Linked DNA regions of Homo sapiens: region 2 is linked to region 1. Evidence: promoter capture Hi-C in human tissues and cell types (Jung and others, 2019). All regions are on one chromosome and are shown on one strand. The core of a region is centred on a gene start or on the middle of the fragment in contact, and the rest is flanking DNA. Distances in the headings are between cores, read along the strand shown. Region 1 holds the start of ARL15 (ARF like GTPase 15). Region 2 has its middle 16 kb from the start of FST.

Region 1 (2,789 bases), core at 187-2,686:
TAATATCCCTTTATCACAAAGATAAAGGAAGTTACTGCCATCAACAAATGAACAACAAAACAGAACTTGAATTCAGAATTTTAGATCCAGCTCCATTCACAAGGCTATGCATTAACTGCAGTCACCATCCTTTCCCACAAGACCATCAAGCTCTGAAGCATTAGGAGAAACATTTTCTTTATGTACACTAAAATAAGCCCAAATACACAGATAACAGCACAAAGCCGGTCCGGCGTTTCTTGGCCATCAAAGCATGCACAGACTTTCTCAGTACAGCCTTAAGTGTAATTCCTAGAAGGCACTGGCAAATCTCTGCCAGGCCAATCTGCAGTCGAAAACCGAGTGCATGTGTCCAACAAGATGACAGGAGGGTCAATGTTTCTAACCGTCTACTTCAACTCTGCATGGCAATAGCGGTTCTGCCCAACATGGTAAACACAATAATCGTATAGGATCGAACACAAGTCTCTGTAAATGAGGATCCCCTTAAACGCAAACAAGCAACTCTGGGGAAATATAATTTCTGGAACAAAACATGGTGCTCGCATAATTCCACAAAGACACATAGAAGTCCATTTTTAAAATGATGTTCGGTCCCAGCACTGTGCTGACACTTTTCCCACCTAAACTTCTCAGCACAAGCCTGGCCTAAACAGCCGGGTTCCAATCCGTGCACAGTGGAACCGCGGCACGCACCCAAGACCGGAATGGTGGGGCTATACCTGTCCCTACTCAGTCCTGTTCGTGCCAGCCTGCGAGGTAGTTTAGACCCGTCTGCTTTATGGTAATGTGCTTTTAAAACCCCGCCACGACCGAGGTCATAGCTTTAGAGATTTAATAACAATCAAATGACCAGGGCTGCTGGGCACTTAGTGAGCCATTCTGGTTATGGCTCTTTAATAGCACCTGGAGTTCTGCTCCAGGGAGAGAGGAAAACTCCTGCTCCCCCGGAAAGAAAGTCCTCTGCGGAGAGCGCAGAGGGAAGCCAGGAAGCCGATCGCGGGCAGGGGACGCGCCGCCGCGGCCGCCCCATCTCTCAAGCAGCCCCAGCGCGACCCTCGCCCTGCAGCCGTGCTGGCCCAGGCCGCACCTTTACCTGTCAGCTCCACCACCCACCCGCCCTGGAGGCTGCCCCTCCGAGTCCAGGGAAAGGCTTACCAGCCGGCTGCGGGAGAAAGAACCCCAGAGGCATCCTATCCCAAAGAAAGAAAGCAAAAAGGCTGCTCCTCAAGGCAGGGGGCCATCGGGCACGCCGAGATCCGAGAGGCGACATGCCACCCCTGCCCTGCACCTACCAGATAATCCATGTACAGAAACGCCTCAGTTATTCGGAGATCAGACATCCGGCAGCCTAAAGCATCCGGAACGGCTCCGAACCCGGAAAAAAAAAGCAGCGTCTCTGGCTGCGAGCGAGCAGCTCCTGAAAAAGCCAGCAACAGCGAAAATAGCCGAAAGCAGCCGACTAGCCGGAGATTACACAAGGGGCGCGGCGATTGGCCAGGCGGGCGGGCAGAAGGAAAGAAGCGTGCTCATTGGCTGCGGCGCCTATAAAAGGCAGGCCCCAGCTGGTGGCAGGAGAGAAACGCGGGAGTGGTGGGGGATGTGGGTTCCTGTGTGCTGAGCGGAGGAGCCGGGGTGGGGGCGGTGCAAGCGGAAGAAAGAGCCAAGAGAGCGGAAAATCGGCTGGTGCTGTCGCCGCCCGAGTTTTGTGTTTCCACAGCTTTCCAGTTGGGTACAACGGAGCCGAACTCCGTGTTCCCGGGCTGGAGAGCCTTGGTGTCCCCGCCAACCCCCAGTAGGAAGCGAGCGCTGTAACATGGGAGGCGTGGTCGCCACTGATCTTGTCTCCCCCCAGAGCCTTCCTAAAGGCTCTGCCGCCACGAGACTGCACCACCGGGAAAGAAGTGTGTGAAAGTGTACTCCGTAAACAGGCAATCCTGTACGCGACTTAGGGGCAGAAAGACCCTCCGCACTTTTATCATTTGAAAGTAAGGTGGACGATTCCAGCCTGGTGTCCCTGAGGGTACACACAGGCCCCCCGCGCAGCCAGAGGTGACTCAGGAACCCCCCTTCCAACCCCTGCGTAGAACGCCGAACAGTCTTCGGAGAATTCGCTTTCCTCCACGTGAAAAGGAAAAGAAAAACATTTGAGGAGTCGCAGTAGTCACTTGTACTCCCCAAACACACGGGAAGAAGTTGATCAGTTTGCATGCTTGGAGTCAAATTACGCTCAGCACAAATCCAACGCCCCTGAATTAAATGAGCAGTAGAAGCTCTCTGCAAAAAACACAACAGTATTTGTGACCCGGTATTATTTCAGGAGGTAAAAACATCTATAAGCAGATGCATTTGGGACGTATGCATTTCCTGGTAATGTCAATATCGCATTAAGCTAGTGGGTTTGGGCAGGGAAAGCCTGAATCGGACAAGAAGCTGGCTTTTTTTTTTTTTAGGCTATAAATAACCAGACCATGCCAGACACATGTTCTTAGGCTATGTTCTTAGGCTCAGGTGATTGGAGTGCCCCCCCCCCCATCCCCACCCTCAGGGCTTAGGGAGAATGGAAGATAAGGTGGATGCTGTCACCTGTATTAATAGTTAGGGCTTGCATACATACAGTAAAGTTTCAAGAGTGAAACTTCATCGACTGAACTCTTTATGAAGTGACTGCCTGACTCTACACGCGATGTTTTAGGAGTTGAATTTTTACTTTCCCCCTGACACCTTTCTTTTTTGTATCCTCAAGAAACAAATTTCCGTACCGTAAGTTTACCTGGGACTACCAAAAC
Region 2 (2,789 bases), core at 158-2,657, 850 kb before region 1:
ACAAATCCATTGAGGAGAGAACTAAATGCAAATTCCACCACCTAGGAAACTTATTGTTCAGAGATGCTTGGGCAGCCTAAAAAAATAGGACACTTGTTTCAAGAAGCTCCCTTCTGGTGGAAATCACCCCAAAAGGACTAAGACATGACACCAGGCAGTCAACTAAACCTGTGCCCTGTAAGCACCTGTTCAAAGGACAACCAACAGTAACTTGGATCCCCACCCACATTCCCAGCAGTCTCCACATCAACACCCATGTGCCAGAACTGACATGAGTGGAAACACAAGGGTTCCAAAAACACAGTTCCAGAGTCACTCCATCAGCATTTAAGTTCTGCTCATTGAATCTCTGTCACCGGACATGTGCACTAAACCACAGCAGCTGTGCCAACCACAGGCCAAAGGAGCTTGATTAGAGGCAGAGCCAAGTTAAAAGGAGTGGGAAGAATGTGTAGAAGCTGAACAGTTAGTAATGTGGCATATACTCTGACTCCTGGGAAAGCAAAGCAGTCAACAGATCTGTGCTGCATATTTCAAACCTAGAGGACCTTTTTGTTAACTGAGATTTCATGCAACCCCAGAGGTGAACAGGCAAAGCCACCAATGGTGACAGCCTGTCTACATGTGTGCTTAGATGAGATTGTACTGTGCGTCATTAATCTGGCAGCTTTGAGCCCCATTCATACACATAAATAGTAATGCTGTCAGCAGCAGCATCTACTAGCACCAAGGACAAAAATAAATACTTCAACATGAAGTATAGACACAGGCCAAGACAGGTCTCTCTTGAGTTTTGAATTCTCATCATAGACTAAAGATGATTGATGGTGATAGTGCTGTGGTTAATGGACATACCACTGTATTTCCCATCACTTTTCAAGTACATGCTTCTGATTCCCTTGATTATTTTCAGTCTTTGCAAATGTTATTCTTCCTGAAATCCCCACTCCACTTTCTCAGTTGCCTCAGCTAACCAGTGGTTTCACTGAGCTCCCTTTCATTTCTGACATGTAACATGCAAGCTTTCATTGTTCAGCTACCTGGGCATTTCTCTTTTCCCCGGCACCCTCCCCCAACCATTTCACCAGACTGTGCTAGTCTATCAAGATGAAAACAACACTATGACACTCGGAACAAACTTCTCCTGTCAGATGCACACAGGGGGCCCTCTGTTGCACAATCTGCACTTGTTCCTCATGCAACAGAGATTCAACTCACAGATACGAGATCCAGACTGCAGATCAGAGGGGAGACTGACTTCTGCCCTTCATTTGAGCCAAAGAATACTTATCTCCTTATTTCCAACTTCTCAAGTTGCAGCTAGACCTGGGGAGATGTAAATATGTAAGTAAAACCAAAGACCATATTCACAGGTTATCCCTTTCAAAATGCCAGTACTTCTCAGTTGGCTTATCGCAGGCTGATTCCACTCTTTATTCATAAAGAGCCAATAGCAAGAAAAGGCAGCTCAGTGTGCGGGAAGGATTGCAGGAGTTACCGCCATATACTGATCTTTTTGTTCTGACACATTGATATGTGGGATTGGGCTGTGGGCAAAGTTACTATGTCTCTCTTTCTTGCAGCCCTAGGCTATCCTTAATCCATAGCTCTGCTGAAGAGATCCTTTCTAGGGAAAACATAACATAGGAAATTTAAATGATTGTTGCTGGTGTTTAATATTTATTGAACACCCACAACTGGACCAGGCACTCTACCGATGTGTAGCTTGCATCTTATTAGAATTTTCTGGGGAAAAACATCACTTTGACTGAAAGCTATTTAAAAAAAAAAAAAGCTGTTGAGCTATTGTAAGAGCAACAAGAATACACATTTCTCAAATATCTCTAATTGCTTTTCATAAGAATACAATTTTCTGCTCCTTCCATTAAGAACAGTCATTAACATGATATACTCAGTGATCCCAACTCTATAGTGCTTCTTTAAACATTTAGTTACATTTGCTAGTAGCTCAGGCTGAAAAAAAAATCACTATGTTAAAACGTATTTGTAAAGATTTTTTTTTTTTTCCAAAACATGTGTAATATAGTTGAAAATAAATTGACCTCACTTTCAAGCTGCACATTGTTAGTCTTTGTCTTGGTTCCCTGCCTTTCTCTTCCTCAGAACCCAAGGTTGGAGCCTCTGTAGCACTCGATCTGCAGAAACCAAGTCTACTTCCTTTCCTGAGATAGTCCGAACAGGAAAAGGAAGCACACAGTAGCCATCACCCCACTCTGTATTCTTACAGAGCTTGGCAACAGGTAACTTTCCCCAGACCCAGGAACCTTCCGTCCTGTCACCTATATCTTCATTGACAACCTGATCTGGAACCCTTCCTGAAACTCAATCTGCAGGCTGAGAACCCTGAACCTTTGTCTACTTCCTACCTGCCTTCCTTCTCAAAGCTAGACCCTGAATGTTGGCAGGAATCCTGAAAAGTGAAAAGTGTTTTTAACTCCTACATTTTCCAGAATACCATGATCTCTGCTGGTAAGACGCTGCTTGCCCTGTTGGACTGGTATTGGTGATCTCCTTAGATTTAAAAAAAAAACTCTGGATGGATATGCACCAAAACATTAATCATGGCTATCTCTGGGTGGTAAGAAAACACATGATTTCAATTTTCTCTTTTATTATATTTTCCAAATATTCTGCAGTGACACGTATTACCTTTTTACACAGGAGGAAAAAAAAGGTTTTCTTTTTTTGTTTTGTTTAAAACTTACCAAGACATACCATTATCCTTCCCGTGTTTCTGTTTCAGTAAATTCTCTTTTTCTCTTTTCCAA

Evidence for each region. The method cuts DNA at HindIII sites, captures the fragments that hold promoters and counts their contacts. A contact is called where the count stands out against the background at its distance.
Region 2: a fragment that was not itself captured here is called in contact with the fragment with the promoter of ARL15 in region 1 in 1 of the 25 tissues and cell types used here (stomach).

What each region holds. Positions count from the first base shown.
Region 1 is chr5:54,309,137-54,311,925 of GRCh38, forward strand. ARL15 (ARF like GTPase 15) reads right to left here and starts at 1,437. Exons shown (of 5, transcript NM_019087.3): 1 at 1,296-1,437. The coding sequence starts at 1,343. The HindIII fragment of the contact is 9,246 bases long and covers 1-2,789 here.
Region 2 is chr5:53,463,724-53,466,512 of GRCh38, forward strand. No RefSeq gene overlaps it. Among named protein-coding and RNA genes, the nearest start is that of FST, 16 kb to the right of the region's middle. The HindIII fragment of the contact is 4,049 bases long and covers 1-2,789 here.